Regions from separate parts of the Homo sapiens genome. Here regions 2, 3, 4, 5, 6 and 7 are each linked to region 1. The links are contacts of gene promoters, found by promoter capture Hi-C in human tissues and cell types (Jung and others, 2019). All regions are on one chromosome and are shown on one strand. The core of a region is centred on a gene start or on the middle of the fragment in contact, and the rest is flanking DNA. Distances in the headings are between cores, read along the strand shown. Region 1 holds the start of ADAMTS16 (ADAM metallopeptidase with thrombospondin type 1 motif 16). Region 2 has its middle 120 kb from the start of LINC02114. Region 3 overlaps LOC101929200 (a long non-coding RNA gene). Region 4 overlaps LOC101929200 (a long non-coding RNA gene). Region 5 overlaps ADAMTS16 (ADAM metallopeptidase with thrombospondin type 1 motif 16). Region 6 overlaps ADAMTS16 (ADAM metallopeptidase with thrombospondin type 1 motif 16). Region 7 overlaps ADAMTS16 (ADAM metallopeptidase with thrombospondin type 1 motif 16).

Region 1 (3,448 bases), core at 746-3,245:
GACAACAACTGTGGTGCCAGGTGTTCAGAGCAGCACACTGGCACCCCACTCCCAGAGAGGATGCTGAAGCAGATTGAATCACTTTAGGAGAAAAGCACACTTAGGCACGAAGCCCTGGCTTTTCTTCTTCTTTCTTCTGTGTCTATAATGTGTTTTATCTTAAATAAAACTTCATAAATGCCATAAACTATTGTGGAAATCTCCTGAGTCCCTCTGGAATTTTCATGGTTTTAGGGAACTAGAATTTTTTTTTTTTTTTTTACAAAAATCTTACTTAAAAAGGTGAATTAGAATTAACCTTTAAAATTGTAAGAATTAACTTTTAGTATTGTAAGCAAAACCCTAAAAAGGACAAGGACAACCACAAGAGGATAGTCTGTAAATGGACAGATAATTAACTTTCTCTTGTAAATTCACTGTGACAATTTTTTTTAACATTTTATATCATTTGCACCTAGCGCCCCCTGGTGGTTCTCAAAAAGGTACTATGGTGAGCGTCAATCTGACACCGGTCACCTTATATACTATTTGTGTACTCATTTGGCAGGGAATAATTTCAAAAGTTAATGCATATATTAAGTGCTTGCCTTTATGTTATTTTATCAAATTGAAATAACTATACTGAGAAATTCTGAATTGTTAACTTTAATTTTCTAGATCTTCTGGAAATACATTGAGAGAATGAAACCTAGTTCTTCCTATAAAAGTCAATTAATATTAACATTTGATACGGCAATTTATTGTTGGTAACAATGCAAAATAATATTTATTAACTGTCATTGGATGGGTTCAGGTTAAAAAACCACCTAGCAACCAGTGCGACACACCTGCGTTCTCATTTACCTGATGCAGTATGAAGACACAGAGATCCCTTTCCATAAGACAGCAAATTTCCAAATGTCACTTGTAAGTGGCAGAAGTAAAAGCATGCATTGAAAAAGAATAAGACTTGCCCTCATGTCAAATTGTGGCCCAGGATATGAACGTTGCTGATGGTGTCACAATCAGCTGATTAGCCATTTCAGGCACTATTATGTTTGAAGTACGCCCTGATTGTTGGAGCATTAACTTTGGTATTGAGATGCTAAGCGCTTCTTTTATCTCCTTCACTGAGAATAAGCAACGATAGAGGAATATTTTAATCTATAAAGGAGGAGAAGGAGGAAAGGTTGGGGACGGGAAGGAGGATCCGAGGATGTAGAAGGGGACGGAAAAGAAAGTAATTTGCTCTTTATGACGGCTTTGATGCATACATTAATAGCTTTAGATTCTTCCTAAGCTCTTTAGAATAAAATAAAATGAACTTCCTCACCTTTTTCCTAATGTTATATCAATAACTCTGGCAAACCGTTTTGCCAGGGAATAAAATGTAAATATTGGTGGAAATCCACTCATCGGGGCTCGCTCATACAGTTAAAAAAAAAAAAAGTTCACAACAGCATCTTAAAAGTAGGGTTCCACAGAGTCGTGAACATTCACAGCACCTAATAAACCAGCGGCACGGAGATTACGAGCTGCTAAATGGCAAGGATTAGAAGCCCCCACCTCACGGACTTACCGCCCTTTTCCATCCAGCCCGGCCGCTCCGCGGGTGGAGGAGGACGCGGGACGCTCGGGCTCCCAGGCGCTGCCGCTGCGGGTCCCATGGCGCACGCAGGTGCCTGCGGAAAACAGCGGCGACATCGCGGTGAGACGGCGGGGTCCGCGGGAGAGGAGCCGCGGGGGACTCGCCTCCAGCTGTCCGGACCCGCGGTTTCCGCGCTGGTGGGAGCGCCCGGGACTCACCTGCTCGGCCACCTGCGCCAACAGCATCCACAGCGCCGCCAAGCCCCGCCATCCGCGCGCGCGGGGCTTCATCCAGGAGCGCTCCGAGGGGCTAGGGGCCACCGGAGGGTCCCCGGCCGGCAGCGTGCGAGCGGGCAGGGAGGACCCGACCCAGGCAGAGCGCGGGAGGATTCCCCACAGCGACTCCGCCGCCGCGCCGGGGTTATTACTGAAGCTCCGTGCGGCGCGGGGGGCGGAGTGGCAGCCGCGGCGGCGGGGGCGGCGGGAGCGGTGGGAGAGCGCGGGGCGGGCAGGGGAGAGAGGAGGGGAGGAGGTGAGGGCGGGGGGGTCAGAGGACCGAGGAGGGGAGAGTGCAGGGACAAAGAGCAGAGGGGAGGAGGCGAGGTCAGCGGGGCGCTGAGGCGGAGGCGAGCGGGGAGCAGAGGGAAGGCGGGAGACAGCGGGCAGCGCCAGAGGAGGAGGACGCGGGAAGATGGAGCTGCCCACGGCCTGCAGTCCGTGCCTCTCTGCCCGCGCGGGGACCACACAGTTGGAGAGGCTGCCGGGCACCGGCGCGGGCGATGCTCAGCATGGACCTCCGGCCGGTGCGCGCTCCTGCCCTGCCTTGGGGCTGGGGACTCGGCGGGACTCCAGCTACTGCAGTGGCTCCGCGGGCTCCCACCTCCGGGCCGCACCGGCGCCGCCAGAGGCCGGGACACCTGCAGCCCGCGGAGTGCGGTCTGGCCGCGCCTCTGTGCCCGGGCACAGCTGTGGGGACACTGGGTGCGGAAAACCGGGCGCCAGGACGTGGGAGAGCCGCGGACCTGCCTTTAAAGGCGCGTGCCTCGCTCTGGAGTTTGCGGAGCGATCGGAGACGGGGAGGCTGAGGAGGAAACTCTTCCCCCGCGCCATTTGCCCCGAGATGTGGCGGCGCTCCTGGCCCCGCGGTCACGGCCACCCTCAACTGGCCAGGCCGCGGAGGCCGGTGACTGGCTGCTGGGTGCAATCCCTAGGGAGGTCTCAGGGCTGCGGATGGGCCTGGGTCTCGGCCGCCACGGGGGTCGATCGGGCTACTGTGTGGACAGGGTGGCCAAGGAGGCAGCAGGTGTGCGGTCAACAGCCTGGCCAGAATTCTGCTGTAGCTGGATGGGGTGTGTGAGCGCGCGGGTGTACATGTGCCTGGGTGTGCGCGGGTGTACATCCACACCTGACTGCGTGTGCGCGAGTACACGCTGTGAGCCCATAGTGTGTCTGGAATTGGTGGGTTCTTGGTCTCACTGACTTCAAGAATGAAGCCGCATACCCTCGCGGTGAGTGGGTACAGCTCTTAAGGTGGTGCGTCTGGAGTTTGTTACTTCTGATGTTCAGATGTGTTCGGAGTTTCTTCCTTCTGGTGGGTTCGTGGTCTCGCTGGCTCAGGATTGAAGCTGCAGACCTAGGCGGTGAGTGTTACAGCTCTTAAGGCAGAGCCTCTGGAGTTGTTCGTTCTTCCCGGTGGGCTCGTGGTCTCGCTGGGCTCAGGAGTGAAGCTGCAGATCTTCACGGTGAGTGTTACAGCTCATGAAAGCAGAGTGGACCCAAAGAGTGAGCAGTAGGCCGGGCGCGGTGGCTCACGCCTGTAATCCCAGCACTTTGGGAGGCCGAGGCGGGCGGATCACGAGGTCAGGAGATCGAGACCATCCCG
Region 2 (3,448 bases), core at 326-2,825, 250 kb after region 1:
AAAGAAAAGAATTTTCAACCCAGAATTTCGTATCCAGCCAAATTAAGCTTCATAAGTGAATGAGAAATAAAATCCTTTACAGAGAAGCAAATGCTGAGAGATTTTGTCACCACCAAGCCTGCCTTACAAGAGCTCCTGAAGGAAGCACTAAACATGGAAAGGAACAACCAGTACCAGCCACTGCAAAAACATGTCAAATTGTGAAGACCATCAATACTATGAAGAAACTGCTGGACAAAATAACCAGCTAACATCACAATGACAGGATCAAATTAATACATAACAATATTAACCTTAAATGTAAATGGGCTAAATGCCCCAGTTAAAAGACACAGACTGCCAAATTGGATAAACACTCCAGACCCATCGGTGTGCTGTATTCAGGAGACCCATCTCACATGCAGAGACACACATAGGCTCAAAATAAAGGGACGGAGGAAGATCTATCAAGCAAATGAAAAGCAAAAAAAAGCAGGGGTTGCAATACTAGTCTCTGACAAAACAGACTTTAAACCAACAAAGATCAAAAGAGACAAAGAAGGCCATTACATAATGGTAAAGGGTTCAATTCAACAAGAAGAGCTAACAACTATCCTAAATATATATGCACCCAATACAGGAGCACCCAGATTCATAAAGCAAGTCCTTAGGGACCTACAAAGAGACATAGACTCCCACACAATAATAATGAGAGACTTTAACACCCCACTGTCAATATTAGACAGATCAATGAGACAGAAGGTTAACAAAGATATCCAGGACTTGAACTCAGCTCTGCACCAAGCAGAACTAATAGACATCTACAGAACTCTCCACACCAGATCAACAGAACATACAATCTTCTCAGCACGACATCGCACTTATTCTAAAATTGACCACATAATTGGAAGTAAAACACTCCTCCACAAATGTAAAAGAACAGAAATCACAAAAAATTTCCTCTAAGACCAGAGTGCAATCAAATTAGAACTCAGGATTAAGAAACTCACTGAAAACCACACAATTACTTGGAAACTGAACAACCTGCTCCTGAATGACTACTGGGTAAATAACGAAATGAATGCAGAAATAAAGATGTTCTTTGAAACCAATGAGAACAAAGACACAATGTACTAGAGTCTCTGGGACACATTTAAAGCAGTGTGTAGAGGGAAATTTATAGCACTAAATGCCCACAAGAGAAAGCAGGAAATATCTAAAATCAATACCTTAACATTACGATTAAAAGAACTAGAGAAGCAAGAGCAAACCAATTCAAAAGCTAGCCGAAGGCAAGAAATAACTAAGATCAGAGCAGAACTGAAGGAGATAGAGACACAAAAAACCCTTCAAAAAATCAATGAATCCAGGAGCTGGTTTTTTTAAAAGATCAACAAAATTGATAGACCGTTAGCAAGACTAATAAAGAAGAAAAGAGAGAAGAATCCAATACATGCAATAAAATTTGATAAAGGGGATATCACCACTGATCCCACAGAAATACAAACTACCATCAGAGAATACTATAAACACCTCTACGCAAATAAATTAGAAAATCTAGAAGAAATGAATGAATTCCTGGACACATACACCCTTCCAAGACTAAACCAGGAAGAAGTTGAATCTCTAAATAGACAAATAACAGTCTCTGAAATTGAGGCAATAATTAATAGCTTATCAACGAAAAAAAGTCCAGGACCGGACAGATTTACAACTGAATTCTACCAGAGGTGCAAAGAGGAGCTGGTACCATTCCTTCTGAAACTATTCCAATCAGTAGAAAAAGAGGGAATCCTCCCTAACTCATTTTATGAGGCCAGCATCATTCTGATACCAAAGCCTGGCAGAGACATAACAAAAAAAGAGTATTTTAGACCAATATCCCTGATGAATATTGATGCAAAAATCCTCAATAAAATAATGGCAAATCAAATCCAACAGGACATCAAAAAGCTTATTCACCACAATCAAGTCAGCTTCATCCCTGGGATGCAAGGCTGGTTCAACATACGCAAATCAATAAATGTAATCCATCACAAAACGGAAGCAACGACACAAACCACATGATTATCTCAATAGCTGCAGAAAAGGCCTTTGACAAAATTCAACAACGCTTCATGCTAAAAACTCTCAATAAACTAGGTATTGATGGAAAGTATCTCAAAATAATAAGAGCTATTTATGACAAACCCACAGCCAATATCATACTGAATGGGCAAAAACTGGAAGCATTCCCTTTGAAAATCAGCAGAAGACAAGGATGCCCTCTCTCTCACCACTACTATTAAACATAGTGTTGGAAGTTCTGGCCAGGGCAATCAGACAAGAGAAAGTCATACAGGGTATTCAATTAGGAAAAGAGGAAGTCAAATTGTCCCTGTTTGCAGATGACATGATTGTATATTTAGAAAACCCCATCATCTCAGCCCAAAATCTCCTTAAGATGATAAGCAACTTCAGCAAAATTTTAGGATACAAAATCAATGTGCAAAAATCACAAGCATTCCTATCCACCAATAACAGTCAAACAGAGAGCCAAACCATGAGTGAACTCCCATTCACAATTGCTACAAAGAGAATAAAATACCTAGGAATCCACCTTACAAGGAATGTGAAGGACCTCTTTCAGAACTACAAACCACTGCCAATAAAATAAAAGAGGACACAAACAAATGGAAGAACATTCCATGCTCATGGATAGGAAGAATCAATATTGTGAAAATGGCCATACTGCCCAAGGTAATTTATAGATTCAATGCCATCCCCATCAAGCTACCAATGACTTTATTCACAGAATTAGATAAAACTACTTTAAAGTTCATATGGAACCAAAAAAGAGCCCGCATTGCCAAGACAATCCTAAGCAAAAAGAACAAAGCTGGAGGCATCACGCTACCTGACCTCAAACTATACCACAAGCCTACAGTAACCAAAATAGCATGGTACTAGCACCAAAACAGATATACATACCAATCAAACAGAACAGAAGGCTCAGAAATAACACCACACATCTACAACCATCTGATCTTTGACAAACATGACAAAAACAAGCAATGGGGAAAGGATTCCCTATTTAATAAATGGTGCTGGGAAAACTGGCTAGCTATACGTAGAAAGCTGAAACTGGATCCCTTCCTTACACTTTATACAAAAATTAATTCGAGATGGATTAAAGACTTAAATGTTCGACCTAAAACCACAAAAACCCTAGAAGAAACCCGAGGCAATACCATTCAGGACATAGGCATGGGCAAGAACTTCATGAGTAAAACACCAAAAGCAATGGCAACAAAAGCCAAAATAGACTAATGGAATCCAATTAAACTAAAGAGCTTCTGCACAGCAAAAGAAACTACCATTGGAGTGAACAGGCAACCTACAGAATGGGAGAAAATTTTTGCAATCTACCCATCTGACAAAGGGATAATATCCAGAATCTACAAGGAACTTAAATTTACAAGAAAAAAAC
Region 3 (3,448 bases), core at 541-3,040, 220 kb before region 1:
AGCAAATCCAGGGCACTGGGATGGCGAATCCATGCACCCAACCCAAGAGGCATAAGAAGAGAGGGAAAATGAGAGAACTGGTCTAACCAGCACTCCGGAGAGAGCTTGCAGTCTTGACAATCTATTAATTACAATTTTACAACTTGATCTTTGTTTTTTCCCTGTCAAGAATAGAACCATTTTCCCCAGTGAATTTTGTGTGTAGTATGTTTTCTGCTTAAAAATAAAAGAGAAAGTATGTGGAAGGGAAATTCCATATTTGCCTTGTTTATCTTGTGGAAATGTGAGTACTTGAAAAAGAAATGCATTTGTGTGGGGAAAGAGAGGAGAGGACATTCGGAGAAGCAATGGGACAGAGTGTTCTTCCACATGTTATTTTGATTCCCTTCTCTAGCAAGGCTGAAAATCTGCTCACTGGGCTCCAGTTGCACCCCTCAAACATCTTGGTTTGAGGTTGCCACCATCCATTTCCTGGGACCCATATAAGTCTTGATGAGAAAGTAAATGAAAGATATCCCCCTGTAAAGAAAAATACCAAAGGCCAAGTGGAATACTATTCATCTTTTTGTCATCATTTTATGCTAGTGTTAATGATATTGTTACCTAATTTTAGAAACAACTTAGATGTTTTTGGGAGTGAAGAGTTGGGTGCTAAAGAAATAAAACAATTTAATACTTACTGTTGATCTGTGTTGGTCCTCAGAATTCTCCAATGGATTTCAGTCATTCTTGGTCTATCTGAAGATTTGATAGACCTTCAGTCTTGGTTCTTAACCAAAGCTTCCAAACAGCATCTGTAGTTTCAGGGTCTAGGGCTCCCTTGCAGGCACCCACAGGAAGAGTTGGACATAGTTGGCCCAAATTTACATGAAGATTTGCCTTTAAAAAATTGGTCATATACGCATGTTGTCCCTGAAACGCTGTTTTCTATAAAGCAAGCAAGTTGACACGTATATCTCATATCTGACATCTGAGCTTGTCATGTACTATGACCATCAGTCAACACCCTCGTGAAGGACGCCAGCATAGGTATGTTGTTAGTCCCCTTTTAAGTAAGTCACAATTATAAGGACCTTAGCTCAGGCTGTGTCAAAGCATACAAAGGGATTTAACTTTATATTGACCTGATGATCAATCAAAGTTTTTAAAAAGGCAGCTCAAAACATTAAACAACCTGAAATATTAATTCCATAACATGTGCTGCAGTTATCTTCTCTTTGGAACGTCAGGGAATATAGACACTCATCTTAATGTGATGAGAGAAATATTTTATTAGTCAAGGTAATAATATTTGGTATTGTCTGGACAGCTTGGTTCTCCAAGCTATCTCTTTTTTTCTTTATGGTAACCTGGATGCTTCCCAGGGTCCTTTGGCTGCTGGGACCTCATGCATAGATGAGGTCCCCAACCCTAGGTAAGGTTGCATTCACTTCTGTCTTTTATGATCTGGAGTAGGATAAGAAATCCTTTAGTGGCTCCTTGGTGACCCTGTGCTTTATGTTTGTGTATTTTGGGCTGGTTTATTTTGCTTTTAGGTGTGGGGCTATACCATGTCCAAAAGTGAGTTTCTGTGTCATGATCAGAGGCTGTTTACATTTTTAATGATTTCAGTGAGTATAGTTGACACTGGTTTCTCAAAAACACCAACCTCTTTGTCCTCTAGAGTGCCTGTGATCTCTGGCTTGAGAATAGTCCAAAGTTTCACTTTGATAGGCATTTCCAGGATGTGACAAACTTAAGGTAGGAAAAAATCACTTCTTTCTGAAGGTAAATTTCTCAAATCTTCAGGCTTGACACACAAGGTGGCTAATTATACTTTTTATTCTACAAATAAATAGAATGTTATAATTTTAAATTATTTCTAAGAGGTCTATAGAAACACAAACACACAAACACAAGTATTGACATAATCACACTTTCTACTTCATTGCTGAAAAATTGGATTTTTACTTAAAAATGCACATCTCATCTTTCAGCTCCCATTTATAGTGAGAACATGTGGTGTTTGGTTTTCTGATCCTGTGTTAGTTTGCTGAGGATAGTAGCTTCCAGCTCCATCCAGAGCAATGTGAACACATGGACATGCACGGGGAGGGAGCAATACATACTGGGGCCTGTCGGGGGGTGTGCAGGGGGAGGGGCAGCATCAGGAAAAATAGCTAATACACGCTGGGCTTAATACCTAGGTGATGGGTTGATAGTTGCAGCAAACCATCATGGCACACGTTTACCTATGTAACAAACGTGCACGTTCTGCACATGTACCCTGGAACTTAAAATAAAAAAATGAAAATGCACATCTAATCCACAGACTTTACAAATAATTTACAACACCTCAGTAGGGATTGGCATATTTTTCAGAATTAGTAACACTGAACTTAATTTATCATTCCAGGAGGGATTGTGTACTTTGGTGAAATGATTTCCAAAGAAAAGTAAAAACTAATTTTGGCCTCAAATTTCTGCTAATTGTGTAATTTAAACCTCTATGACCTTAACTTCCAAATATTTTGGCCATATTAAACAAAATAAAATTGATTTGTTAGAAAATGACGTTTCGTAAATACAACCATCCATCCAGCCAGCCACTCATTCATTCCTTCATTCTTTTGTTCATGTCTTTATTTTCTTACATTAGTGAGTTGGATTTTCCTTCTGCTGTGGGAAATAGTGCAAGGAATTACATATTATGAGGTGTATCTCACACAGCTTGACTCTCTTCTCTCAGGTCGATTCATTCACTTTGAAGCGTTTAAGAGAAATGTAGAATAGAAACTGAGGAGGGAGCTTTGGGAGAGTGCCTGAAGACACCACATTCCTTTGGTGTCTAACACCAGCGCCTTAGGGCTGGTGAGGAAATGGGGGTATCCAAGAAGGTGGCCTAACTTGTTCTCCTTAGCAGTGTAGCTCTTGGAGTAAGAACGCAATCTGGAAGGAAGCTGTGATTCTGGCCGGGACCACCGGCAGTTCCTCACTCCACCTGGAGTGTTAAGGACCATCCCAGAATCCCTGGGGCCTGTGGTGGCTCAGTAAACACGATTTGTGCCACAGGCTAGGCCTGGGTTTGCCATGGAGAAACCAATTTTTATCGATGTTGAGGGCATATGAGAAAGTCATACATAACCAAGCGCTGTTAGTTATGGTTGAAATCTGAATGGAGATTAATAGTATAACACATTGACTGATAAAATTGTGTCATCAATATTATTATCAAACTGTAGCAATAAGATGAAGCAATTTATTTTCCTAAGCAAAAAGAAAAAAAAACAGTCTATGAGTTAAGTCCAATGTTAACCCCCCACCTTTATCCTACAGGGGGTAACATTAATGTTTACTATTAGGTTATAGTTCCTTTCAATGAATCGAAGGTCTAAAATTAAAGGGCTCACAGATTTCTAGGCTTCACTGGGCAAGCATTTCTCTAGAGTAATCTAAGATGAAAAGTAAT
Region 4 (3,448 bases), core at 569-3,068, 200 kb before region 1:
GTAAGGACACACATATCTTACAATGTGTCTGTGTGCCCATTGTGCCACTCCTGAAATGCTCCAGCCTTCCCTTTACCATTTAAGACTCAACTCCAGTCTCTCCTCCTATGCTGAAGTCACCCTGAGCCTCCTCTGTGCGCCGATTGGGCTTCTGGAATTGGTATTTTACATGCTTCTATGAGTGAATTTTTCTACACTGAGGTATAATTACCGATTTGATTCACGTGCCCCCTCCCACGTTCGTCTGCGCAGATGGAAGGCCGTGCTCATCTTGGCAGTGTGTACATCTTCCCCTGGCAGAATGACCTGGCTGTGGCTCCCCCTGGGGTGTTGCCCCCACCCCCAGGGAGCATAGGGAATGCACATGCTGTTCTAGTTTGTCCTTGCTAATGGAGGGCAGGCCCGCCTAGTGTTCCGTTTGGAGAAGAGGCATGCAGCACCTACCACCCCACAGTGGGCCACCAGAACATTCGCTCATGGTGGAGAATGATCCTGCTCCCACTGCAGTGATGTCTACTTTGGGACACCTTGGCTTCTAAAGAAAAACACTATATTAGCTTTCATAAAAATTCCAAAAGCTCCATTTAGTAATTATTGAGAAAGCATCTGTCACACAATCAGTCAGAATTAGGATCCATGAAGGAAAAGAGTTAGATTGACGGTTGGCCCAACCTGGCCTCTCTGCCTCTAAGATGGAAGACCTGTGTCTCTCAGGCTCCTACCTTTCCCCTTCCCCCGGCACCATGACTCAGGCGCTCAGGCAGTAAATCCAGGGCTCATGGGGTCTTCTTTATGTTCCGTACTTCTGGTGACTTACCTCTTAGTTTCTCTTCCTGTTTCCCATTCCGGCTTCAGTCCTTTGCCACATCATTGAGGAGGACCCTCGTCCCTCCTCCCTGTGCTGCCCATGGCACTTGTCTTGGCTTCCTGAATGGTCCAGTCTTCTCTCACTGACTGGCAAGTCTCAGTTCATCCTTAGAATTGGTTCCAGCCTTGACTCCATGGCTCCTGTGGGAAGGTACCCTTCCTCCTCAGCCCCTCTCCTGCCCTCCATCCTGGCCCTGCACTTAGCCGGTGTACATGGTTCACACAGCCTACGTGTACTTTTGATATTTTGCTTCTTGTGCTTGTGTTGTGACATCAGCCTGGAGAGTTTTTTGCCTCCAGACCTCAGCGAGTTCCTCCTAATCAGATAAGTGGCTCCTCTTCCCACCCTCATCCCAAACTCAACATCAACACCATGATTTTAAAATCAACGTGTCAATTTCCATGCTTATTTATGCAGGCTCTTATGGTAGCTGCTTGCGGCTTCAAATTTGGAAAACTTATTTCCACAATATAATTAGAAAGCCACTCCAGAACAGGGATTGGCTTATACACTTCTCATTCTTCAACCTAGGTAGCACCAGTAGGAACTCAGACAAAGTTATTGATGAATTAGGTGAAATGAATTTATCTAAACACTTACTCAGCCTCCAGTGCTTTTAGCCTTTGTGATTTTGAGAACAACATTGTCTAACCTCAGGGTGTTACCAGACATTGGAAAGTTTTAATGTCTCAAGTGACTTAGGGTGGATAGACCTGGGTAAAAAACAGGAAAACAAAGAGAAACAGGAACTGAAGGAGATTCCTGGAGAGGTTTCTGGAATGAAAAGTTCTTGGGGTTTGTGACCCTAGAAACCACAAACTTTGTGGTCCTGGTGTTAAGGACAGAACTGCTGAGGCTCGAGGAATGTGTGCACACTAGTCCCTGAGTGCCATGACCTGACAGCGTCTGCAAACAATGTCTCATGTGATTAAAGCCAAAGCATGACCTCAGGGATGGGGACTCCTGGCACACAGCAGCTTAAAACTCCAGGGAGAGTAGGTATTTTCTTTACTTGAAAGCACTCTTTGCATGAAAGAAGAATGCACACTCAGGGGCTGCTTTCGTACTCACTGTTCATTTAACCCTGGTTTGTAAGATGTCATAGTTGAGGAAGAGAAAAGAAAAGGTATCTTCAATGATTAGTTTTGTTTTCCTTTGTCATAAGATAGCAACCGAGGAGTGATTTAAGGAGGTCTGAGATGTGTGCTTAAGATAATCCTTTTAAAATGGTAATTAATCATGACTGAGTCATAGATGACTCTATCAAAACAGTATCTTACATTTTATACAGCTTCAACTTTTCCAAGTATTTTTATGTCTTTTATCTATTTACTTTTCAAGGGGAGGCCAGATCCAGCATACCAGCTTCCCACGCATAGGTCTTTCTCCTTTTCCATGGTTTTGTGTGCATAAATACATAATTTGGGCCACCCACTTAATTTCAAATAATCCTTATTAAACACTGAGTATTTGTTAATCATCTTTACATTTGCTATTTCATTGACAAGGAAATATGGTTCAAACATACACATTTACTCTCTTCTCAATAATTCCTGACCTCCACCCTCACCAAACTAAGTTGCAAGAAAATTGGGACCTATTTGGAAGATAATCTTTGTTTTTCTACTCTGCACATATTTGCCCATTTATGATGTTTGTGGAAGGCAGGAAGAAGTTTCTCATCTTTTCATTTTTGGCAGACTTATTGCCTGAGAGCTTTGGAGTGTCAGATACCTCAGCCAATGAAACACCATCTGCTACTGGACAGAGACTCTTCTTTGAGGCCCCAGTATTCTCTGCCCTGGTCTTCTAGGCTGAGCCATCCATCTTTTTCTATCTCTTTTCAGTAAGCTGAGGAGAAATGCTAAGCACTCAGGCTGAAATGAAAATATCTCACCACGCGCTCCCATCCATAAGAGAACCAGGTGCGTTTGCAGCACGGATCCTTCATCACTGTGCCAGTGACCTCATTTTCTTGGGACTAGATACTCTATTGAGAAAAGGGGCTCCTTCCTCATTAAATTACTTCCTCGGTTAAATGAGTGCGTTTCTGAGATTCTAAAAGTAAATTCAGCCAGGTCTAAGGATATTCAGACCAAAGGTGAAAGGTAGGTTGTTCTTGTGTGGATGGCAGGAAGAAAATGTGCTGGGGACCCCTTGATGTCCTGTGGAGGGACTGGGGGTGAGAAGAATGGATAAGGGTGTTGGGCTTGTGGGAGCCCAGTGCGGCTGGGAGGGAGCTGGGGGCACGTGCTGAGCTTGTACTTGCACATGGTGAGTGTGTGGCCCTGCCAGGACACCCAGGGGAGCTTGTCTCAGGGGCCAATTGTCAACCAGAGGCCCGTGCGGGAAGGGTTTGGAGGCTGAAGACTAAGCAGGGAGTCAACTGGGCACAGGGAGCTCTTGGGAAAGGCAGAACGGGAGTCATCCCTGCTGCCAAGCAGACAAGGTGGCCACGGACCGTCAGAGACGAGCTACGCAGAATCAGCCTGGGGGCTTCTGTCTTTCTACGTCTTTGACTCAATTGGGTCTAAAATAGACAAAGAGAGCTCAGCTTCCAAAATCACCATGTGACCATGG
Region 5 (3,448 bases), core at 594-3,093, 180 kb before region 1:
CTGACCCCACTCACTCAACCACGCATCTACCCATTGGAGCCTCTGTTGACTGAATTTCAATTCTCCAATTCTCTGGTTGAGCCAAACCACTCGCCTTCCTCAAGCCACATTATCTCTCAGAATAGCCTTAACAGGCGCCCAGCCATCTGTCTCCGCAATGCTGGGGGATTTTGTGTGTGCACAGGGATGGCATTTAGAGGGCACCCAGTGAATAAGGGAGGCTTTTGTTTATCCTAGGGAGAAAAGCTGCTTTAGTTAAGATTGCTTTCTTTAAATATAGTGAACAGCATTGATATAGGAAAGAAGTCACGCTTATGTCACTACCATCTATGTTGTCCTGGGGCATCATGAGAGGCAGCCCGGTCTGCTCTATGGACCATTTCATTGTAAAACTGGAGAAGATGCAAAGAGAGAAAAGGTAGATCAGACGCAAGACCCTAACTCCAGGCCCCCCAAGGAACTGCTCCAGAAACCTGACATTCCAGCCCCATGCCCAGGTCATGCTGAGGGGCCCCATGTACTCACCTTTCTTCTCTGCAATGGGGCAGAAGTGAGTGTTGCAGGCCAGGGAGGCCGAAGGCTTCTGGTGCAGGAGGCAGCCTGAGGCCGGCCGGCCCCCAGCCAGGCACTGCACGGACCTCGTCTGAACGCCTCCCCCACAGCTGGCCGTGCACTGTGAGAGCAACACACACATGTCACCATGGCCCCAGGCTCTCAGGCACCTGGTCAACCTCAGTGTGCCCACCTTTCTAAAAGGCCTGCTGCTGCAGGCCAGTGAGGGAAGAGCGACTTAGTCGCAGAGGCAGGTGGAGTTATGGTTGGCCACGATGTGCGCGAGTGAGCACGGTCCCTGCTCACCTTTTCCAGAAGCAAGCACCAGGCATGTGCTGGGCCAGGCCTCTAGCAGAGCATTCCAAACCAACCAGCTGACATAGCTCCTGGAACCCTTCCTGTTTTCAGATAGAAGACAGCCTTGAGCCTTGAGCGGTGACAGGACTTGCTCAGGCTGGGATTTGAACCGCTAGAGTTGGATTCTATAGTCTCAACAGACGGTTCCCGGGCTTGGGCTTTGTGGGGGCTGAGTTCACTTTTTAAAAAAGTAAATATACTGCCGGGCACGGTGGCTCATGCCTGTAATCCCAGCACTTTGGGAGGCTGAGGCGGGTGGATCACCTGAGGTCAGGAGTTCGAGATCAGCCTGGGCAACATGATGAAACCCCGTCTCTATTAAAAAAAGAAAAAAAATTAGCTGGGCCTGGTGGTGGGCACCTGTAATCCCAGCTACTTGGGAAGCTGAGGCATGAGAATCGCCTGAACCTGGGAGGCAGAGGTTGCAGTGAGCTGAGATCATGCCACAGCACTTCAGCCTGGGCAACAAGAGCAAAACTCCATCTCAAAAATAAATAAATAAGTAAGTAAGTAAGTAAGTATACTGATTAAAAAAGCTGATATTCATGGATTGGCATATTATCTCCTCAAATTACAGGCAGCAAGGAAGAACAAACTTAGATCCCCCTGCCAATAAAGTTACCTACAAGTTATCCTTCTGATTGAAAAACATGAAAAGACTTAACATCTTGGTTTCTATTTACGGTATTTCAGAGAACACGGTTGCTGATGTTACCACCTGGGACCTGGCGCAAAGGTACTTACTTCCCTAACTCTTGTCCCCAGGACCAGCCCTTGTCACTGCTGGTTGGGGTAACCCCTCATTTCCTCTTGCCTCTGCATTTGAAAGCACCGCCCCTCCACCCAGACCATTTGAGGTGGTCTCTCTGTCTACAACTGTGAGTGGCTGGCCAAAATTAATCTAGGTATGGATAGAAGGAGAAGTGTCTGGAAGTCTAGAGTATTTTTGAGTGTGTCAATGATGGTTGCATGGCCACAAGGAAACTGGTGCATATCTGGGGATACCAGGCTTGTTCTCTGAGCCTAGCGTGAAAGAAGTAGTGCCCTTCAGGGAATGCCCTTGACAAGCCACCCTTTCTGGTGGTCCGACGGGGAGAAGCTTGACAAGCCAATCTTTACAGTGGCACCATCACCCACATTCCCAGGCCCCTGATGCATGAGGGTGGGCACTGCCAGCTGCTGGGGCTTATTTTGCTAAGGTGTTGGCATCCTATTGAGGCTCCCCCAATACTTGGAGTATCAACAGCACAGGGAGAGAGAGGGAAGGAAGGGAGTGAGCTCAGTTAGATTATCTTTCATGAGCTGGCATAATGCACATGCCACAGAACATGAGCAGGACCCATCTGAGATCAACCACTGAAAATAAATCAGTGGTTAGGCAGCTAAAGATACAGAGACACTGGAATCTGTGATTGAGTCATCTGAAAAATAAAACTACCCACTGTCTAGACTAAATCATGTAAATTGTGCTCAAACGAGGCTAGGGTTGGAATATGTTGGAAATGTAAGCAATTAAAGGAGCACCTGCAAGAAGATTGGGTCAGATAACATTTTGGAAGTCCTGGTGCATGGTGGGTGAAAAAAACAACAAAACTGTTGCTTTAAAATGCAAGGATCACACTGTGAAAAACTGGGGACATGCATGACTCCCTTTGCTGCCCCAAACCTACAAGAGAGTATGTCAGAGACCATTCCAGCAAGTGAAGGCATCAGGCCTGGGGCTGGTTCTCCACAGCCCAAACCAGCCTGCAAGTGAACAACCAGGGACTGAACCTTTCTGGGACCTCCTGCAATCAGAGCTTTACGAAGTGACTTAAATCGCTGGGGATGGGATTCAGTGATGGAGCAAGTCAAACATCTTTATCTGCCCACTGAGAGGAGAAAAGTTGGAGACACAAATGGCCCTGAAAGTCACAAGCTGAAACTGTTTGTCTGTTTTTTTCCCCTCTGGATGAGGAATGGCTGAGCCCCTGAGCATGTGTCTGGAACTTATCTGGGAGGCTTACTCCCTTTGCTTCAAACCCAATTTTAGAAAAAGTTGCCAACAATATATGACTACGGAAAGTAGAAAAAATAATGTGGGGAGATTCACGTTTGATTTCAGAATTATCAGGGTCACAAGGATAGAGCCAGATGTTGCCCATCACTTATTACATCTTTCGGAACATTCTGCAGAACCACATTTCTGCCTTTTTTCTCTGCTGTCTGCATTCCAGACACCCTCTTAGCTCACACAGTGCGCCGAGAACCTTGGGGCTGTGGTCACCCTGCTGAGACAGCAGCTCACAGGAACCCTTTGGCCACATCCGCATCCATCAGTGTCCACAACATCTTTCGTTTCTTGAGTTAGATTTATTTTATGATAAGCGGCTCAGGCAGAATTCCATTCTTGCTTAAGATATGCCTCAATTAGAAATCAAGAGATCTAGCCATTGGTTTTTTTTTTTGTATCATTTAAACAGTTCCAAAATAATTAATATGTGGTTTGATTCATTTTTGTCACTGATTCACTTATTCAGCAGATTTTAATCACTGATAT
Region 6 (3,448 bases), core at 600-3,099, 150 kb before region 1:
GTCTATACTGGGTTTGTATTTTATTTTATATTTATTTTTTATTTTTAAAATTATTATTATTATTATTATTATTATTATTTGAGCTGGAGTCCCACTCTGTCACACAGGCTGGAGTGCAATGGCACAATCTCAGTTCACTGCAACCTCTGCCTCCCAGGGTTCAAGCCATTCTCCTGCCTCAGCCTCCCAAGTAGCTGGGATTACAGGCGTGCACCTCCATGCCCGGCTAATTTTTTGTATTTTTAGTAGAGATGGAATTTCTTCATGTTGGCCAGGCTGGTCTCAAACTCCTGACGTCAGGTGATCCACACCATTCAGCCTCTTAAAGGGCTGGGATTACAGGCGTGAGCCACTGCGTCTGGCCCAGGTTTGTGTTTTAGAAAGATCACTGCGACTGCAGAATGAATAAGACACTAGAGGAAGCTAGACTGTAGGTAGAAATTTCTACTCAAGTCTCCTGAGGCTGCAAGAGTGAGAGGCTGGTGGCTTGACTATGACCAGAGCCTCATTTCCATTAGAGAGGGCCATTCTGTCTGTCCACAGAATTTATGCTTTATAATTTGACATTTCATCAATGCCTCTGTGAAACTCACAGGACTGAGCACATGCAAAATACTAAACATTTGTTGACCAGTTGACAATGAACGTCACCCTCCTCAATTCACATATACAGAGCTATGTTATTTCCTAAATATAGTAACATCACTAGAAGTTTCCTTTTGGGCTCACCATAATGTACCTGTGTTTCAGCAGATTTGCTTTTGCCTGTGGATGTAGAAATCCATAAAGTTATAGCCAGGCACCAACAGGGCAACACAAATCAAAGTTCTTTGTGAAGTCTTGCCCTGGTCCATGACCCTGGCTGGCTGACTGCCCGAGGACAGCCTTTCTGTGTCTAAGGCCTTGTGGTGTGGGGGTGGGGGGGTGGGGAAGCCGTGGCTCTGCGGTCAGGATGCCTGGGTTCCAACCTCAGCTCCAACCTTGCCAGCTGGACGGCCTTCAGGAAATCACGGGACACCAATGTCTCCATTCTCTCCTCCGCAAAGGGGAGATGGTCACAGTAGCTTTTCTATGCAGTGCTGGGCAGGCTGGGAGGACTAGCAGACAGGAAGTGCTCGGGAAGGGCTGGCTGTGGTTATCATGATTTCATTCCTTTGTCTCTTCCTCATCCTGTCCCCTGCCTCTTCTCCTCCTCAACCCTCACCTGGGAAAGGGAGCTCATTCACATGTGGTCCACAGGATTCCAGACATTCAGTCCCTCAGCCTGTGTACAAGAGGGAAAGCCATGTTTTCCTATAGCAGTATTATTTTATACTTATTATATACATCCCTTCTGAAAATCAACAAAGACCTGACTGGTAAATACGAATTAAAAAAAAAATCACAGAGACACAGACATTAATTTTGTTGTATTGCCTCTCAGTGATTTTCCGGCATTGGTAAAAATGATGTCATGATATGGTCATCACATGGAACTATGTGATTTTGGAATATTTACTCTTATGAGAACTATTGAGAAATTTTAGAATTTCTAAAATTAGAAGAATGGGGAGGTTGAAAGAATGCAGAAAACAATGCTCCCAAGTGGTGGTAACTGTACTGGATGGATTTATTTATACCTAACGAAAAGAAAGTGAACGCCATCTCAGTGACGCCCGAAGAGCCCGCACAGGTGTTCTCCACCTCGTCTGGGGAGAGAATGAAAGCAAATGGTCACAGCGGGAAGAACAGGCCTTTCAGGTCCTACACAGTGAAAGTTTACAAGGGGAAAGAAAAGACTGCCAGTGCCTCTTACAAATCCTTCATTTCAAACAGAAAAATGATATTAAAAACTTGATTAACTCCCAAGAGAAGCTGCTGAAGCCCACTGCAGCATGGAAACAAGAATTTTAGCGCCTCTATTTTGTGCAACACCTTTTTTTTCTTTGAGATGGAGTTTCGCTCTCGTTGCCTAGGCTGGAGTACAAAGGCTCGGTCTCAGCTCACTGCAACCTCTGCCTCCCTGGTTCAAGTTCCCATCTCAGCCTCCTGAGTAGCTGGGATTACAGGTATGCACCACCACGTCCAGCTAATTTTTGTATTTTTAGTAGAGACAGGGTTTTACCATGTTGGTCAGGCTAGCCTCAAACTCCTGACCTCAGGTGATCCACCCATCTCGGCCTCCCAAAGTGCTGGGATTACACGCATGAGCCACCACGCCCGGCCTAGGCAACACCTTATTAACATTCCCAGGGGAGAAGTGGCCCTTCTGCCACAAAGTTCATGGACTGTGATCGTGAGACCACTGACTTCGTTTAGACATTTTAACAGCTGACTAGGAAATGTCTTCCTCATACAGTTTCGGTGAAAGCCAGCTGCAAGAACACAAGCTTGTGGGTTACACAGATTTGATGATTTCAGATCTGACTTGCTTCTTTACCTCAGGAGATTTTGCTATCCTGAAGACAAGCCATTTTCTTGAGAAAGGAAATATGTTTCCTAAATCGCTGAGAAGATAAATGTACTAAACAATACATCATCTAAGTCAATGAAAGATACTTGCATGCTAATAATGAGATGACCGTAGACTGAAACTAGGTTTAGGTTTTCTGAACTGCTTGGAAATTCTTGGCTGCCATGCCATTAACACTGCTATTTTGCCCTGATTGAAAGGTGATGTAGAGACAGCACTTTTGATTAAGACACTCATTTTGCTGGAGGATGCTTTCATCTAGCCCAAAAGTTGGCAAGTATCTTATTAAAGGGCCAGATAGTAAATATTTCAGGCCGGTGGAGATCTCTGCTGTGAGGACTCATCCCTGCTGCATCAGTGAGAAAACCACTGGAAACCCCATGTACATGAATAGGCCTGACTGTTCTGATGAAACCTTATTTACACAATCAGGTATGGCAGGCTGCACTTGGCTCACAGGCCATAGGTTGCCACCTGCTGATTTAACCAATTCTACTTATAAATAATCGAACTGGACATATCTGTAAAAACCAGAAAGCAACTAGTGTTTTTACAGCACCCAAGACACCTTACAAGATAGACCTGTTGGAGTTTGATACCTATGTTGAGCCTAGCTATCATGGATTACTAGGAGATTAGGACAAATGACCCCATTGTTGGGAATGTTAACAATGAAACAACAGCAATAACAACAAACAACAACAAGCCCACATATTAAAGCCTGAAGTTCTAACAAAATATTTGCAAATCTTAAAGGGGTGAAATGAAGCTTATGCAGACGGCTTCAAATATTGCAGTAAGTAAGAAAGCAAACCAGTCGCACCTTACATGTAGTGTATGAATTTGGTTATTAACAGCCACGCAGAATCAGTGCCCCTGGAGGACAAACCAAATGCTAGGCAGGGCACTAAGCTTTTTTTTCTATTATCTGTTGAGTGGTTTAATTTTCCCTGCAAACCAATGATGTGGACAGATGCTATTATTTCCTAAAAGTGA
Region 7 (3,448 bases), core at 356-2,855, 130 kb before region 1:
GCAAGTGATAAAAAGGCCTGATTCATGCTAGAATGCAGATGGGGGCGGGGCAGCCGCGGGAGGGCCGTAGGCTGCTTGTCTGGGCAGTGCCCGCGCAGGGAGGAGCCTCCGTGTGAGGGAGGAGCGGGAGGAGCGGAAGGAGCGGGAGCCACAGGCTGCACAGCTCCCCGGTCCTGGAGGAGCCACTGGGAATTGCTGATGCCTGTTATTTCTCCAGGATACTCCTGCTGGCCGAGGCTGCACAGCCATTTTAAGAGAATCTCCAGCAAGAAGACTTCTAGACACCCAACACCCTGCCCCCTGCAGAGATTTAGGACTTAGGGGATCCCATCTGGCAATGCAATTGCAGGAGCCTGCAAGGCTGCAGGACGGCCTCTGGGTGCTGAGGAGGAGGCTGGGGCTCCAGCCAGCACAGCAGGTTTCCTTTTTCATTTAAGTTAAAAGTGATAAGGCTGTGGATTAAGATGTTTTACAGGTTCCACCCCTCAATCCTTGTGGAACCCTCCTTCAAGTTGAACATGAAACATCAGATCACACCCCACTGAGCCCCACTTAGTGTCAGACAGAGCACGAACTGTGGGGAAGGAGAGTGCGGCTTATTCCCTCGGGGCTGTGGCTCCAGCTTTGCCAGGCTGCTGAGGACAGAGCTCGGAGTACCTGCAGCCTAGAGGCCAGGGAAGCCTCTCAGGGAGGCAGAATTCAGTAAGAAAGATGCACACTCCATCCTCAGAGAAACGGAACATGGGTTTCCTGAACATTTAATCAGGAACAAAAAATTGTTAGTATCCAGGACATAATAGAAATATATTTTGCATTTCAGAAGAAAAGTAAAGCAACATTTTAAATTAAAATCTATGTTCCCAACTCAATTGTTAAAATCATACAATGAAACAACAATCCCCAAGGGTTGACATATGCCATGTAGGTCCATTATTCTGTGTTTTTGCCATGGATAGTTTTGCTTTATAGACTAAATTCATAACTGTTGTGAATTTCTTTCTCCTTTTACAGCAACAATAATCATAGCCAAGATTTAGTGAGTGTTTATCACACCTGAGAGCATTTACGTGGAATCCTCACCTTATCCTAGGAGACAGGAGACCTGGATCATGCCCGAAGTGGGGAAGGCAGGGTCGAGCCCAGGGAGGCAGGCAGTGTCACGGCTGCACCTTTGACAAGGTGCAATGCCGCCCAGCGCCTTTGTCTGACTCTGGCCCATGGACATAACCCATGGCAACCAGACCACTCCATAGAAAGAATTCCAGTGCAGGAGAGTTGTGGGAAGGGAGCCTGGAGATCTTGTTTCTCCTGTGAGACAGAAATTTACTAAGCTCCATGTGCGATCAGGCCCTGGCTATTTGTGGGCGATGGACGGGGAGATCCACTTGGTTCTCCTTAAGATTCTCCCAGGCAGGAAAGCATGGCATTGGGTTCACAGAGAGGCTTCTGTATTGTCTCAAAGTTTCCCCTTTCAGAGGGCAATATGAACATTCCAAAATAGGAGGTCCACATGTCAAAGGGTGCCATCGGATGGAGGGCTCCAGGGTTGACTGAAGTGGATTTGGGGCAGCCTCAGTCTCATGTTTCTACTTGCTGTAGGACACATCAGCTCCAGCTTCCCCTAGACTGGCCCTCTGCTGCTGAACTGCACCTTTTCTTCCAGCACACAGTGCTCTTGACAGCATGTGTGTATTAAACCGTGTTTGAGAGAGTCAAGTGTAGAAGATAGGACACAGCAGAACGCAGGGATGTCTTCAGCTCCAAATCTCTCAATACCAGAAAGACCAAGCGTAGAGAGGTGGAGGCAGAGGAGACCCAGCCAGAAAAACAACAGGAACCACTGGGCGAAATGGGTCACTTATATGGAAAAAATAGTAACTTCCAAAGGCTCCTCTAGAGGCTCGGGACCATCTGCCCTTTGTGATGGGAGGGAGGGCAGAGCAGCGGGGTTGGAGGCACAGGGAGATTCTGGCAAGAGGAAGGGCTGGTCATTGCTTCCTTCTCTTTAGTCTGAGGTCCCAGGTGGAGAGTGTGGGGCAGGGAGATGGAGGAGATTGCAGGTGATGTGAACTCAATGTCCTGGGAGGTGGGGAGCAAATGACCCAGGGGCAGGTGTAAGGATTGTGTACCATCCTTGGGTGACCACACTTTTAGAGTGATAACATGGGATTTTGGGGGTAGCATTTACTGCTGAGCTCCATGTGCACAGTGGGTCAAGAGTTGGGGGTATCCAGGCTGAGGTGACCAGGGTAGTATAGGGGAGCGAGGGTGAAGCAAGGCAGCTCAGGTGCTGGTGAGGGGAGGGTTCCAGCACTGCCACAGCCTCTGGCCTGGGTGGGGGCTCCGGGGTCCTGGGCAGTGAGCGGTGGGACGATCAGCCATGCAGTGAGACAGAAGGACAACTTCAGTGTGGATCTTGAAGCATAGGAGCTGCATGACAAGAGGCATGGCCTGTCTGGAGAGGGGTGTTAAGGACCGAGAGGTCACAGGTGAGGTGTGTATGAGCTCAGAATGTGGCTGAGCTGCACCAACTAGACCCAGCAGGCATGGCTTAACAAGGGAGGGAGCGGTTCCCTTTGTGCGAGTCTGAGCTGGTGGGCAGTTGTGGGGTCGGGGAGCGCAGTCCTTCTCCAGGTCACCAGGCTCGACTACCTCCGTCTTGGCCCTCTACTCCCCTAGAAGGTGACCCCTGCCTGAGGGGCTGCAGCTGCTCACTAAGGCCAGGACCTGCTGCAGCCACAGAGGTGGGCAGAGAAAGAGGAAGGAGCAGCTGCCTCTTGAGGGCTTAGCATGGAGGGCATAGGCTCACATCCCATGGGCCAGACCTTAGCCTGGGAGGACAGAAATAGTGTCCAGTCGGGATCCCTGTGCAGGTGGATGTATGCAGTGTATGGGGCAGCGGCTTCTATTAACAAAGACGGGAAGGAGAAATGGACCTTGAGGGATACCTCTGGGCAGTTATTGTTGATGGCAGGCGTGAGAGACCGAATCAGGGGAGACCATTTGATGGACAGTCAAGGAACAGAGAGGTAGGTGCGTTGGAAGGATCCCACGGGTGGATTTAATGTTGACAAACTGACCACAGCAGTAGCAGTCGCAGTTGCAGTAGCTGTGGTGACCGAGCGTCTGATGAGACCTTCGTCTGCAGTGCTACGTACGGTGAGTCAAGGATACCGCAAATGCTCCTATCTTGGGGTCCTCCCAGGGGAGCTCCTGAAGGAGGCTGACGTGAGGCAGATACTTTACATGGGAGATACGTGGGAACATACAAATGTGGTTTAGATGTATTAAGGAACAGTTGATTCCAGAAGCTTTGTGATGTCTGAGTAGTGCCTATTTCTCAATGGTGGCAATCCAGACAGGATCTGTCAAGCTTCTCTACAGAACAGCCCCAAGGGAGAGTGGGGTCACAGAGCTTATAATCTTGGGATGTGACTGCACACATTTT

The links. Contacts are between HindIII fragments. The study calls those that stand out against the background at their distance.
Region 2: a fragment that was not itself captured here is called in contact with the fragment with the promoter of ADAMTS16 in region 1 in 1 of the 25 tissues and cell types used here (ovary).
Region 3: a contact is called between a fragment that was not itself captured here and the fragment with the promoter of ADAMTS16 in region 1, in 1 of the 25 tissues and cell types used here (spleen).
Region 4: a contact is called between a fragment that was not itself captured here and the fragment with the promoter of ADAMTS16 in region 1, in 1 of the 25 tissues and cell types used here (adrenal gland).
Region 5: a fragment that was not itself captured here is called in contact with the fragment with the promoter of ADAMTS16 in region 1 in 5 of the 25 tissues and cell types used here (dorsolateral prefrontal cortex, heart right ventricle, liver and 2 more).
Region 6: a fragment that was not itself captured here is called in contact with the fragment with the promoter of ADAMTS16 in region 1 in 1 of the 25 tissues and cell types used here (lymphoblastoid cells).
Region 7: a contact is called between a fragment that was not itself captured here and the fragment with the promoter of ADAMTS16 in region 1, in 1 of the 25 tissues and cell types used here (thymus).

Annotation. Positions count from the first base shown.
Region 1 is chr5:5,138,877-5,142,324 of GRCh38, reverse strand. ADAMTS16 (ADAM metallopeptidase with thrombospondin type 1 motif 16) reads right to left here and starts at 1,995. Exons shown (of 23, transcript NM_139056.4): 1 at 1,786-1,995; 2 at 1,559-1,661. The coding sequence starts at 1,857. ADAMTS16-DT (ADAMTS16 divergent transcript) reads left to right here and starts at 2,271. Exons shown (of 4, transcript NR_109915.1): 1 at 2,271-2,369. ADAMTS16-AS1 (ADAMTS16 antisense RNA 1) reads left to right here. Exons shown (of 2, transcript NR_198969.1): 2 at 1-187. RefSeq lists an enhancer at 2,223-2,789. The HindIII fragment of the contact is 9,507 bases long and covers 1-3,448 here.
Region 2 is chr5:4,888,427-4,891,874 of GRCh38, reverse strand. No RefSeq gene overlaps it. Among named protein-coding and RNA genes, the nearest start is that of LINC02114, 120 kb to the right of the region's middle. The HindIII fragment of the contact is 3,596 bases long and covers 1-3,373 here.
Region 3 is chr5:5,355,109-5,358,556 of GRCh38, reverse strand. The region is part of intron 2 of LOC101929200 (a long non-coding RNA gene); the gene reads left to right. Among named protein-coding and RNA genes, the nearest start is that of ICE1, 66 kb to the left of the region's middle. The HindIII fragment of the contact is 4,299 bases long and covers 1-3,448 here.
Region 4 is chr5:5,334,425-5,337,872 of GRCh38, reverse strand. The region is part of intron 2 of LOC101929200 (a long non-coding RNA gene); the gene reads left to right. Among named protein-coding and RNA genes, the nearest start is that of ICE1, 87 kb to the left of the region's middle. The HindIII fragment of the contact is 7,492 bases long and covers 1-3,448 here.
Region 5 is chr5:5,315,359-5,318,806 of GRCh38, reverse strand. ADAMTS16 (ADAM metallopeptidase with thrombospondin type 1 motif 16) reads right to left here. Exons shown (of 23, transcript NM_139056.4): 22 at 526-673. LOC101929200 (a long non-coding RNA gene) reads left to right here. Exons shown (of 6, transcript XR_001742583.3): 4 at 1,603-1,645. Among named protein-coding and RNA genes, the nearest start is that of ICE1, 110 kb to the left of the region's middle. The HindIII fragment of the contact is 6,242 bases long and covers 1-3,448 here.
Region 6 is chr5:5,289,130-5,292,577 of GRCh38, reverse strand. The region is part of intron 18 of ADAMTS16 (ADAM metallopeptidase with thrombospondin type 1 motif 16); the gene reads right to left. LOC101929200 (a long non-coding RNA gene) reads left to right here. Exons shown (of 6, transcript XR_001742583.3): 5 at 1-11. Among named protein-coding and RNA genes, the nearest start is that of ADAMTS16-AS1, 110 kb to the right of the region's middle. The HindIII fragment of the contact is 4,931 bases long and covers 1-3,448 here.
Region 7 is chr5:5,268,088-5,271,535 of GRCh38, reverse strand. The region is part of intron 18 of ADAMTS16 (ADAM metallopeptidase with thrombospondin type 1 motif 16); the gene reads right to left. All of the region lies in intron 5 of LOC101929200 (a long non-coding RNA gene), which reads left to right. Among named protein-coding and RNA genes, the nearest start is that of ADAMTS16-AS1, 94 kb to the right of the region's middle. RefSeq lists an enhancer at 1-241. The HindIII fragment of the contact is 3,475 bases long and covers 1-3,342 here.